3 separate regions of the Homo sapiens genome follow, and regions 1 and 2 are each linked to region 3. Evidence: promoter capture Hi-C in 16 types of primary human blood cells and fetal thymus (Javierre and others, 2016). All regions are on one chromosome and are shown on one strand. Each heading gives the region's core, a stretch centred on a gene start or on the middle of the fragment in contact. The rest is flanking DNA. Distances are from core to core; before and after follow the strand shown. Region 1 has its middle 41 kb from the start of EMP1. Region 2 overlaps EMP1 (epithelial membrane protein 1). Region 3 holds the start of GPRC5A (G protein-coupled receptor class C group 5 member A).

The links. The method cuts DNA at HindIII sites, captures the fragments that hold promoters and counts their contacts. A CHiCAGO score of 5 or more calls a contact.
Region 1: a contact is called between a fragment that was not itself captured here and the fragment with the promoter of GPRC5A in region 3, in 1 of 17 cell types (M2 macrophages). The highest score is 6.2, in M2 macrophages.
Region 2: a contact is called between a fragment that was not itself captured here and the fragment with the promoter of GPRC5A in region 3, in 5 of 17 cell types (total B cells, naive B cells, activated CD4 T cells and 2 more). The highest score is 7.2, in total B cells.

The regions. Positions count from the first base shown.
Region 1 is chr12:13,235,186-13,239,432 of GRCh38, reverse strand. No RefSeq gene overlaps it. Among named protein-coding and RNA genes, the nearest start is that of EMP1, 41 kb to the right of the region's middle. The HindIII fragment of the contact is 2,149 bases long and covers 799-2,947 here.
Region 2 is chr12:13,213,868-13,217,843 of GRCh38, reverse strand. EMP1 (epithelial membrane protein 1) reads right to left here. Exons shown (of 5, transcript NM_001423.3): 5 at 1-3,310. The coding sequence ends at 3,153. Among named protein-coding and RNA genes, the nearest start is that of EMP1, 19 kb to the right of the region's middle. The HindIII fragment of the contact is 5,370 bases long and covers 1-3,976 here.
Region 3 is chr12:12,888,848-12,892,896 of GRCh38, reverse strand. It overlaps GPRC5A (G protein-coupled receptor class C group 5 member A), which reads right to left and starts at 1,335. Exons shown (of 4, transcript NM_003979.4): 1 at 1,233-1,335. The HindIII fragment of the contact is 15,074 bases long and covers 1-4,049 here.

The DNA of each region.
Region 1 (4,247 bases), core at 624-3,123, 350 kb before region 3:
TCCTCTCTCACTCCCTCCATTTTTTTCCCTCTACCTCTCTGTCACTCATTCTCACGGGCTCAATCTCACATAAAAATTAACTCGCAGAATGAGTTAACTTATTTAATCTTCATGGCAACCCAGGGAAAAAAGTATTATTATCAGCCTCATTTCACTGAGGTAAAAAAACTGAGTAAAAAACTGAGGTACAGGAGGTCATACAAGTAACTTAAGGTCATACAACTAGTAAGATTCAGAGCCTGGATTTGAACTCAAGAAGTTTGACTGCAAAGCTTATAATCTTAACCATTGCTACTCTCCATATCTTTGTGATTGCATTGGCTTTGGAAATAAAGGGAAGATCTACAATGACATCTTAAGATGGAGCGGACCAGAAATTGTGGTGCACTGTGGAGAGGCAAGGTGAGCCCAGCAGGAGAAACCTGGGATAATCTGCAGTAAGCCCTTGGCAATGATTTCAGGAGAATATACGCACTTCCTGGGGATGCCTAGAAGCCATCGAGAAGTAGCCTAGAGTTCCCACAGTATCATAGGACAGAGATTTTTAAGGAGAAATTTGCATATGAAAAAGAATGGGTTCTGCTTCTGTGAAATGTGATAATATATGCACGGTGATTTTCACTATGCTTGGATGCTCAGTAATTGGTCACTATATATGTTAAGTCTTCCTGCCCTTTTCTGATACTCTTTCTAACATCCCTTGAAGGGCAGTCCAAATTTTCACTCAATTACCATCATTCAGCTAACATTCACTGTCTGTTACTTGCAGGTCAGCAAGTTGACTCTATGGCACAAGCTTCCCCTTTTCTGGCAATGTTACTTCTGAGCCATGTTTGCAGCCTCCTAAGATGCTTTGCATACTGGAAAATAATTAAACTTACCCACAGATAAATAAACCAGAGTGAATCCATTTTTCTCTATTAATAAAGATTTATGTGAATATTTTTAATGAAGGTAACTGAAAGCAGGTGGAGGAATACGAAGTGTGTACGAAGCAGTTAGTAGTCAACTCGGCAGAGATCGAAGTGTGTCAGACTAAAACAAATATTAGTAAGAACAACATGTGGTCATTTTGCGCCTTTGTAGGAGGAAAGCCAATGAGAAACTTCAGTGTGGAAACATAACTGCTCTCCCACCAAACCCAAAAAGAAGCTAAACTGCTTATCAGGCATGGCGAGTATATGGTATGCGGTCAGCCTTATTAGCATATCTTAATTGAGAATTAGACCGTCATGGCAGAACACATTGTAAGTTTAAAACTTGGGAGACAAAATAATTCATTGAAATTCCCAAGGCACATCTTGTTTCCTACCTATTCCTTGAAATGTTTTCCTTTTTTTTCTCTCTTTGTTTTCCTGTTATTCATTTCTTCCTTCTTTCTTCTACCTTCAGCCATGCTCTCAACTTTCCTGTTCACTATCTAAATCCCTCCTTTTATACAATTATGTTTGTGATATATTTCCGCAATTATCAGAAGTTATTACTTCTTTTCTCTCCCCTCTCTGCTTTATATTGCTTTTCCTTTATCTTTGCCTCCCATTATTCATTCTCATTCATCTTTTTCATTGTCTTTCTCCCCTCTCATTCCCTCTGTCTTTTCCCCTCTACCTCTCTGTCACTCACTCTCACAAGCTCAATCTCACATACAAATTAAATTATTATAAAGAATTTCTTTGCTGGTTACAAATTCCATTCGTGCCCAGGGACTTAGGATTGCATAAGATTGGATGCATCTCACGCCCCGTTGCTCTAAACTGAAAATGTTTTCTTGACCCCCTCTCACTTCACACTACTGGAGGAATAGCATTATCCGTTATCTCCCCAGAGCAGCGATGGGAGGAACATACTGCTGAATATACATTTGGCCATGACTGCATCCATATTATGGAAGACATCATTTGCTCTTAGAACAGAGGACATCAGCACCGGCATTCACAGCCTCATCTGTTAAGTGTGTTTCCCTCATTCTGCAGTTGCTTAGCTCAGACCGGCGAGTACCTGGTGGGCAACCCTTCCTCTGAACTTGGTGGGGAATCATACAATCTGTTGAACTTGGCTCACATATAGCCTAGGAATGGGTACCCCAAATATTCCAGCACTGGTAGTAGTACTGGTAGGTGGTGTGTTTGAAACACAATCTCAAATAAAACAAAGCAACCATATCCCATGGAACTGGCTGTTTATCTCACATACTTGATCTGGTTGGGAGATGAATCAATGAGATCTGAAGTATTTTCCAGGGTACATACACAATGCTGTTGGTCTAGGCCTTGGTGTTATTCTCATGAGTGGTAGTCTAAATTGCAGAGCCATGCAGAGGGACTTATATTTGCCAGGAACGTATTAACTATATACTGCTTTCTGGGTAGTGGCTGGGACTTTGGAATAATTATTCTACAAGTTCACATGAGCATGAAAGATCTGACCCTGGGTGGGTCTTGGGGGCATTTTCTCTTCATGGCAAGCCTTGATAATGCCAAGCTCTAGCTGGCCCCTTAAGAAACCTCTGAGCCTTGGCCAGGGATGATTTTCAAGGTCTCTGACAGATCAGTAGTAAACAAAAAGTATCCCTGGACAGTCAAGAAGAAACCCCAGTTAATTGGTCTTCAAAATACCTAAGATCAGGCCAGGCACAGTGGCTCACACATGTAATCCCAGCACTCTGGGAGGCCTAGGCAGGTGGATTGCTTGAGCCCAGGAGTTCAAGACAAGCCTGAGCAACATGGCAAAACCCATCTCTACAAAAAATACAACAAATTAGCTGGGCATGATGGTGTACACCGGTAGTCCCAGCTACCCGGGAGGCTGAGGTGGGAGGATCGATAGAGCCAAGAAGGTCAAGGCTGCAGTGAGCCGTGATGGTGTCACTGAATTCCAGCCTGGGTGACAGAGTGAGCTGCTGTCTCAAAAAAAAAAAAAAGTAAAGAAAGTACTTAAGATCCAAGCTTGGCCTAGGATTATTCAGAAACCCTAGGGAATGTGGAAACCTGTCCCAATCCCACCAGACTCTAATTACTCTAGAAACTACACTCAGGTATTTAGTTTACACTGCTATAAGCCATAGAACTAACTGTTAACTTTATGACATGTCTTGCTTATTAAGCCACATGGTGCAAGTCAGGGATGTAATATGGTTAATCTCCTTTTTTTAAGTAGGATGTGCCCAAGAGAATATATATATATATATTCCTTCACCCAGAAATAGAGACACAGACCCAGAGACAGGCTCATGCTTAACGCCTACCATGAAACTCCTACCAGTCTCTATGGTGGTAGGATCTCTGACGGAGGTTGGGTCTCTGATGGAGGTTGGGTCTCTGATGAAGGTTGGGTTGTTGGGACCTGGTCTGATGTAGCTCTCTACATGGAATTGACAGTAGATATTCCAAGCTTAGCCACCTGCTGCTATCTTCTGAGCAAGAAGGGGCTCTAATGTATAAAATCTATCAAAGAACATAGAAAGGTTTCCTCTCTGAGCCAGGCAAGTAATCTCCCCAATAGCCAAGAAGAGTAACAGAAGATGTGCACCCTATAATGCTGGTCTTGGGGTGTAGGTGTATGAAACAGAAAAACAGGCCACAAATATGCAACTTCAAATTTAACTTCTTCTGAGGCATTTTTCTGGAAAACCTTCAGCTCTATGGGTATGACTCAATTAGTGTTCACTGAACATTTAACTTATTGGAAATATCGGAAATCAAATAATATTTCCAAATTTCAGGTGAAAAAACTGAGTCAAAAGATCACTAAGAGACACAACAAAGTGACTCAGAAAAAAAGATGAATTTATGTATCTGGTTTCTGAATCTCTAGGACTATTGTGTTCACTACAGAATACTAAATGCTTTGTCTCAAAATCCATTGAAAGATTGTATAGTTGCATAAGCTCCATTCATCTCAGCTACTAGTAACCCACAGTTATCTTGGGATACAAACCAAAGAAATATGAAATGCAACTAAATTTCAAAAAAGAAATAGTGTTGCAGGAATACAATTTCCCAAACACATGTTAGTTAATATTCCAGTATTAACTTTTACACTTTGCCTTTTATCTTGGCATGTCAAAGTACATAAACCATTATTCTAAGATCTTCGCCTTCATTCTCTCAAGATAAAAAAGGAGATTCAGAAATAATTGTGCCCAGTAATCCCCTAAGGAAACTAAAGCTCATAGAATTTCAGTGGAAGCTCTGCTTCCAGTTTAAAGTAACTCTGCACCCCAGGTTGCCCAAGGCCATGCCAATTTC
Region 2 (3,976 bases), core at 1,316-3,815, 320 kb before region 3:
AAATAAATATATTTTTATTTATTTATATATATGTTTGCACACACACGCGAATCTTATTTTTTCTGTTTCTCTGGAGAATTCTGACTAATGCACCCCCATTCACCATCCAGGCTTTTGAGGAGAAAGATACCAATCTTAGCAGCAGAGGACACTCTGGATAGAGCTAGGAGTTTGTTGCAGAGTCTGACAAAAGTTCCCTCTGCAGAAGGGATGGAAGGATAGCCTTGGGGGTTGATTTAGGACTGGGTGTATGACATGGGGGAAAAGAAATCCCTGGGGGAGCTAAATGAGGGGAGGTGGACCCCTTATGATAGTTTATCAGAGCAATCTAAGAAATCATGTAGGCCTCTAAGAAAGCATCAAGAATCAATGCAATTTGATTAATTGACTTAAAATATGTTGAACTTTTCAGCCTCCATTGTGTATTTTTGGTGCAATACTCTGTGCAACTATTTCATCCAAGACCAGAAGGGGCTGGAAGATTGCCTGCTTCACATTAAAACCCTCCTTATTGTATTGGTGCTGACACGACACAAGGATATGCAGTCTTTATCCAGTCCTTATTGCTCACAGAAAGATACCAGTCCTTACTGCTCACAGAAAGTAGTGAAGCCTCCCTTCACTCACAGAGCCCACACAGGTATGCCCTGGTTTATGTAATGAATGGGCTGCTACAAATAGGTGTGATGCATGCCTTTGTGAATCACTTTATATTTTGAAGACACATTAGAGGAGCTGGCTATTTCAAAGAAATTTCACAAGTGCCTCATTTCTTAATGTCACAAGCATTTCTGATTTATAATCATAACCCCTTTCTAATGTATTAGCTTATGAAGTTCCATTTTTTGCCTAAGAGGTTTAATCAAAGCAAGATAAAACTATGCTTAATAATATTCAGTTACCTGAAAGAGCTATTGCAGAAATGCCTAATATATTACCAGAAAGTAGCTTAATGTCTCAAATAAATGTCAAGTTGTCCAAATCAAACTGATAGGCAGCTTAATGAGGGATAAATGTCATAATTATCCATATTTCTCCACATTTTTTTTAGAAAAAAACATTCACACAATGAAGGGAATCAGAATCTGTTTTTATATCCCTAGAGTTATAAACATTTGTATCAAAATATTTACAATTATAGTATATGAAATAATCTATTAACGAAGAAGCCCAATACAGTACTAGAACAATCCACCAGAGTAATGCAAATTACATGAGACATAAATGTCACAGAAAAAAAGTAAAAGATAAGGGAATACATGGTTTACTCCAGTCATAGTTCAACTTCTTAACAAAATGTGAGTATTCCCTTTGGATATGTCTGAAATGTAAGTATGTTTTTTGCACTAAGACAGCCTTCTATAATCATGTGATAATGAAATCATAATGACAAAGTTCATCTTCCCACAGTTTTTGCTGGCCAATCTCTCTAACCTCAGCCTAGGTAATTTGGTGGCTTGCCCTCAACATTTCCTTAACTAGAATAAACATAGAGAAATAGAATTAGTAATAATCCTTTTACATAAATACCAAAAATCATGGCATAACAACTCCCCAAAAAGGAAAGGTATAAAAGAAATGGATGAGGAGAAAGCTAATAAAGAAAAGTAGGCAAGATGTCTCAGATTCTCCCTGGGGTAGATCTTCTCAGGGCGATAAAGAAAACGTCTTCCCAAAAAACCCCTTTAGACAGAATCTGAGATGGCTTAAAATAGCTGCTCCAGGGCAAAGCAATGCCTGCTTAACCAGGAATAACATACTACTTCTAAGTCCTGTATAGAGGTGCTCCTGCGGCAGCAGACAGCTCGTCTACCATCTGACTAGGTACCACAAGAGTTTTTGCTTTTTTATTTTAAAGAAAAGATCTGCCCATCACCTATATTTTTATTTATCTCATGGGATTTTCGTATTTTCCTGGGAATGCAGGCACTCTGTTCTTATCATGGCTGAAATACGGTAGGCTTAATACTTCACAATTATATAGCACCTTTCACCCAAGGGCCTGTTGTTTGGTTTTGGTTTATGTGTGTTTTAATCAGCTTCCAGAATTGCCATGCCTCACCTGTGAAGTGGGATAGGCAGGGTCCCCAAGAGGTGATCACTCCAGGTGGTGTCTAAGCCAGAGCTACCACTGAGCCTAGGAGCCCTGATCCTCAATATTGATAATTAGACAAAACTTCCTCAAAAATGTTAGAGGAAGAGTAATAGGATTGTGCTACAATGAGCCATGTCCATCTCTCTCCTGTTGTATACTTAAAAGAAACACTGACTGCATTGAGGGGAATCCTAAAAACATAACCCTAACATGGCACTGTTGCAAGACTGCCCCTTGGATCCCATAGTTTGTGTGGTACTTTTACCACCGAATTGTTCACTAGTGACTTTAGAGAAACTCCAGAAGAGCTGCCTTGGCTTTCAGCAAGAGGCCTAGCAAAGACCATGGCATGAGGTCTCCATGAGGGACAGCCGTGTGTGAGGTCTCGACTGGGCTCTGACCATCCCCCAGGTTTTCCATTGTGAAAAGGTCTCCTTCTTGGTTTAGCTAACCCACCAGCATGACCTTACAAACTCTCTTTCCTCCTCCCATTTTGTCACTGAATTCCACAGAGCTAAATATCTGTTCCAAAGAGGGACAATGGCTCACAGGCCAAAGCCCCCCAGTAGGCACTTCAGACTGGAATGTGATGTTTTGCTTTGGGTCAGAAGGGCAGGATGGCTTCCAGGCTTAGCGTATTCAGCACAAAGACAGTATCTGCTCTTGCCAGAACTTGTACCGCTATTTTAACTCAGTGCAGTAGGTCTGTGGACCTCAGTGCATGACCCAGAAGTGGGGCTGGTGTTGTGGCAGCTGATGGGGCCCCAGACAGTGTGTGTCACTAAGAACAGCTGGAGGCCAAGTCTGGTGGCTGCAGGGAGGCTCTCTGGACCCCATCAAGGGAGCATCAAAGTACTAGCCAACTACTTTCTCCCCAGGGCAGGGGCTTGGCAGTAGAGAATCCCCTCAGTAATGGTTTGGGATTTGACCTCCCCCCTTTGCTTCCCCCTCCCCCCTCCCCTATCTCGGTTTTTCCTGTACAGCAACCTCCACTTCCCTCCCAGATTCAACGGCTTCCTCCTCCCCACCCCCCAGATCCCCATGAACTCGTCCGGCCTTATTTCTTTCTCAGGACCAGATAGAGAACGCCGATGATGAAGCTGAAGCAGAAGCAGATCCAGCCCAGGATGTAGGAATAGCCGTGGTGATACTGCGTTCCATCACGATTCGCATAATGACTAGTGTAGATGGACACCCCCACAAGAATGCACAGCCCTGCAGGGGAAAAGGAGATTTGTCGGTGTGTTTTCTTACATTAAAGTCGAGAAAAAGTTTTACTAATTTTAAGAAGATCCTATTTCCCTCATTAGCAATAGGAAAATGAATTCTGCTTGTTTGTCCCTAAACAGGAGTTCTGATGGATGTCCCCTGGGCCAAGCTCGACGGTATGTTGATAAATTAGAGGTGTCTGGGCTCTCATGTCTGCACTGGTTTGTGTGGCCACGCTGTGATGTAAAACACAGAACCTCATGCCTACCACCCAGCTGTCCTGTCTGGCCCTTGTGGGTCTAGGAAAGCTACTCAGGGATGCAAAAGAGCATGTCCTTCCACCAAACCGAGTATATTGGGAAAGAACAACAATTAAGTGAGAATCACAATAATGATGTGCATTGTGGCAGTGGTTTCATCTTTCTGAGAACTCCTACCTTTCTGCCTTCTTGAAGTGTCTTGTACACACGTGCTACTAACAGATATGCACTGCCACTTGGTAGCTACCCAGGAGCACTGGTTTTGAACAATGAAGCAGATGAGGGTTCTTAACCTAAGCAGCAATCCAAGGTTCTCCACAAGAGAACAAATAACCAGAGGAGAAAATTGCACAAGGAAGTTTCACTGAACCATGTGCTAATCTGTTCAAGTTGCCAGAAACACCCATGGTAA
Region 3 (4,049 bases), core at 86-2,585:
GTCCCTAGCCCATTGTGTCTGAAGTAGCTGAAGTGTTCCCCTTCAGGAATGAACCCACAGCAGTGGCTGATTCGGCCGAACCCTTCAACAGGTGTGGTGTTTACACAAGCCTCTGAGGAGACAATCAGGAATGGAAAGAAGTCAGGAATGGAAAGTCCTTCAAATTCCTTGATTCTGAGCAGGTTTCAGCTGTTAGCTAGCCTTTCCCATGGATGTTTAAAGCTATCTGTGGCCGGGCGCGGGGGCTCACACCTGTAATCCCAGCACTTTGGGAGGCTGAGGCGGGCAGATCACCTTAGGTCGGGAGTTTGAGACCAACCTGACCAACATGGGGAAACCCCGTCTCTACTAAAAATACAAAATTAACCAGGAGTGGTGGTGCATGCCTGTAATCCCAGCTACTCGGGAGTCTGAGGCAGGAGAATCGCTTGAACCCGGGAGGTGGAGGTCGCGGTGAGCTGAGATCGCAACATTGTACTCCAGCCTGGGCAACAAGAGTGAAACTCCATCTCAAAAAATAAAATAAAGCTATTTGCCAGCCTTCCCCATGGATGTTTAAGGGACCAGATGGAACAGCATCTATGCTATTCCCAAATCCTATCCATAAAGTCGGTAGTGGAAGGTGCACTCTCAGCGCACATTCAACTTTCATCTGTCCCAGGTTTCTGAGCAACTCAAGGCACACCAGAGTGGAACTGACCGCCCACACATCAAGAGAAAAGGGATGGGCTTCTAGATCTAATTCCCAAAACTCAGAAGGGCTTTTTGCAGCATCTGGGTAAAATAGTAGCTGTCACCGTGTCCTCCCTCCTGCCCCTGCCCCTTGTTTCCCACTCCCCCTCCACTCCCAGTACCTTCGGGTCCTCTGAGATCTTTCTCCCTCTATTCTTTTCCTGCAGAGTGATCCCAGAGCTGCTCACCTCCTGCCTGGCCGGATTCCATCTACTCAAAGTTTGTAGAATGTGTCCGAGCAGAAACTATTACCCTGATTATCTCTTTGCTCTCTGCCTCTATCTTAGCCTAGGAAACCCGCAAAGGGGAAAAAAAAAAAAAAAAATCTGAGTTGTTAAACTAGAGGAACTGTTTCCTAGGGAATTTTTTTCTCATAGCCAACTGTATTCCATTACCAGGATTTCTCTCCTCTTCTATCCCACCCCTCCCAACGCCCCGCTCTCCCCAGACGATTTAAATCCGGAGGCCCCAGCGCTCTGGGCTCCTGGCGCCTCACTTACCCTAGTGCCAAGGCGTTGGCCGTGAACTTGGTGCTGCTTCCCGCGCGCAAGAGGGCAGCAGGCGAGCTCCTCAGTGCTGGGGGAGACCTTGGACAGCTATCCCGCCCTCGCACTCTGAGCAGTTGTTATAAAGGCGGCCCTCGCCGGAGGGAGGGAACGAGCGAGGGGTGAGCAGAGGGACAAGGAGGGGGAGGGTCGAGGGAGAGGACACGCCTATTCCAGTTCCACGGCACTTCATGCTGTTATGAAAATAAAGTCCCCGTGCCAGGGAATGACCCAAAAACCGTCTGACGTCAGAGGCACAGTCACCCCTGGAAGCTGGGCGGGGGTGACCACCCGGCCCTGCCCAGCGCATCGGACTCCTCCGAGACGTGCTCACGCGCTGGTCCCAGGGCGCCGGCTACGAGAGGGGAGCCGGAGCAGACCAGCTCCTTACGGGCCCCGCCAGCTGTCACCTCCCGGGGGAGCCACACCCGCCTCCCCGCAGGCACTCGGGTCCACCCGGGGCAAGGGCCCAGCCCGCGAGATTGCAGCAGCTCCGCCGTCAAGTCCAGCGGGACAAGCCAGCCTTCCTCCACTTTCTTTGACCTTAGCTTAGCCTTTCTCTCCATCACTCTCCCCCAGCCACTGCCGTATGGGAAGCCAGGCTTCAGAAAAAGGAGGCAGCCACCTTCTCAGGGCTCCCCAGCCAAAGCCACGTGAAAGCCAAGGAAAACTTCCCCCACCAGGTCCGTAGTTAGCTCAGCAGCTCCACCTGTCAGAGTCTAGACAGGCACCATTAGTGCTGCCCTGGGGCTGAGAGATCAGTATCTCTCCTTTCCTAACTGCCTCTCCTAAAGCCTCGACAATGCAGGCTGATTGAACGGGGGCGCCAGATGAAATTATGAAATGAAGGAATTTGCTTTGGTGCCTGGTTTCCCCTCCCTCCACTGCCCACTCCTCTTCCAGGATCAAGCCAATCGGACCGAAACTCGTCTTTGTTTACGTGTGGAACGATCCTGGAGTGGCTGCCCGCCTGTGTCGGGGCTCAAGCCAGGTTCTACCCCATGCCACGGGGAGGCAGGAGGGACTCTGTTTTTAAAGTGGTTATCAGCGCGCTTGGTAAACTAATCTGGATTATTCTGCATATGAAGAAATGGGGGAAGGCCCAGGGCTCCCCAGCTTTCTCTTCACTTCTCCCCACACCCCAAGTCTCCAGAGCCTAAAGTGCTTTTAAAATGTGACCTACTGGAGACTGTGACCCCACCATTGTTAGGTTTTTATTTCACTCCCAAAAAACCACAGGCAGTGCCTTGAGTGTTGGAACACTTTGAGGTATGCAGCCCAGGGGTCTGTGAGTCCACCCATTTCACACCTAAGACTCCCAGGGGTGTGTGTGGCAGAGTGGGGGTGGGTACTGAGAGACTGGTGGGACTGCAAATGACAGTGCTTTATAGTGTGTGCCATCCGCTAAGTCAGGGCTTCTCTCCGGACCCCAGCGTTCTCGTCTGTTCAAGAAGTTGAACTAGACTACCATTGTACAATAGAACTATAATTCAAGCCACAAACATAAGCCACATTTGTTTTTTATTTTTTGTGTGTTTTTTCTTTTTTAGACAAGGTCTCGCCGTCACCCAGGCTGGAGTACAATGGCACAATCGGCTCACTGCAGCCTCAATCACCCAGGCTCAAGCTATCCTTCCACCTCAGCCTCCCAAGCACCCAGGACCACATGTGTGCATTACCACACCTGGCTAATTTTTTTGTTTGTTTCTTGTTTGAGACACTCTCACTTTGTCACCCAGGCTGGGGTGCAGTGATACCATCATGGCTCACTGTAAGCCTTTACCTCCCAGGCTCAAGCAGTCTTCCCGCCTCAGCCTCCCAAGTAATTCTTTTTATTATTTATAGAGACAAGGTCTCGCTGTGTTGCACATGCTGGTCTCAAACTCCTGGGTTCATGCCATCCTCCAGCCTTGGCCTTCCAAAGTGCTAGGATTACAGGTGGGAGCCACCACACCTGGCCCACATATGTCATGTTAAATTTCTAGCCACATTAAAAGAAGTACAAAGAAACAGGAAAATTAATTTTAATAACACTGTATATTTTTTACCCAAATATGATCCCAAATATGATCATTTCAACATGTAATCAATATTTTTAAAAATATTAAGGGGCTATTTTACTTCTTTGGTTTCCAACTATATCCTCAAAAACCCAGTGTGTCTTTTATATTTAAAGCACCTGTCAGTGTGGACCAGCCACATTTCCATTGCTCAAAAAGTGTGTGTGGCTTGTGGCTACCACACTGGATAGTGAGGACTAGTTGTCCCTGGTGGCTCTTCCAGCACGGAGTCTGAATCACCATGTCTAGGGTGAGTTTCATGACATCGAGCAAAAGACGTCAAGTCTGAGGATGGTGAAAGAACAAAGATGATGTGGTTTTGGGGATCCTACCCTATCTCTACACCCCCTCCCCAGGACCACATTCCCATTAGGTCCTCCTAATGAGAATGTGATGAGTGTATTTGATCTTTCCTTTGTTCACTGTTCTCTGGATGGTATCTGTCTGGCAGGTCCAGGGTGTGTGAGACAGAGAGCATGTGTGGGGATGCTTGTTCTGAACCTGTCTTCAGTCATTGCTCTTCACTTTGCTATTGGCTTTGTTTGTTGTTGTTGTTATTCTTAGAGACAGTGTTTCACTATGTTGCCCAGGCTGGAGTGCAATGGCTATTCACAGGCCACCATAGCTCACTACAGCCTCCAACTCCTGGGCTCAAGCCATCCTCCTGCCTCAGCCTCCTGAGTAGTGCCATTGACTTTGGATGTCCCACCTT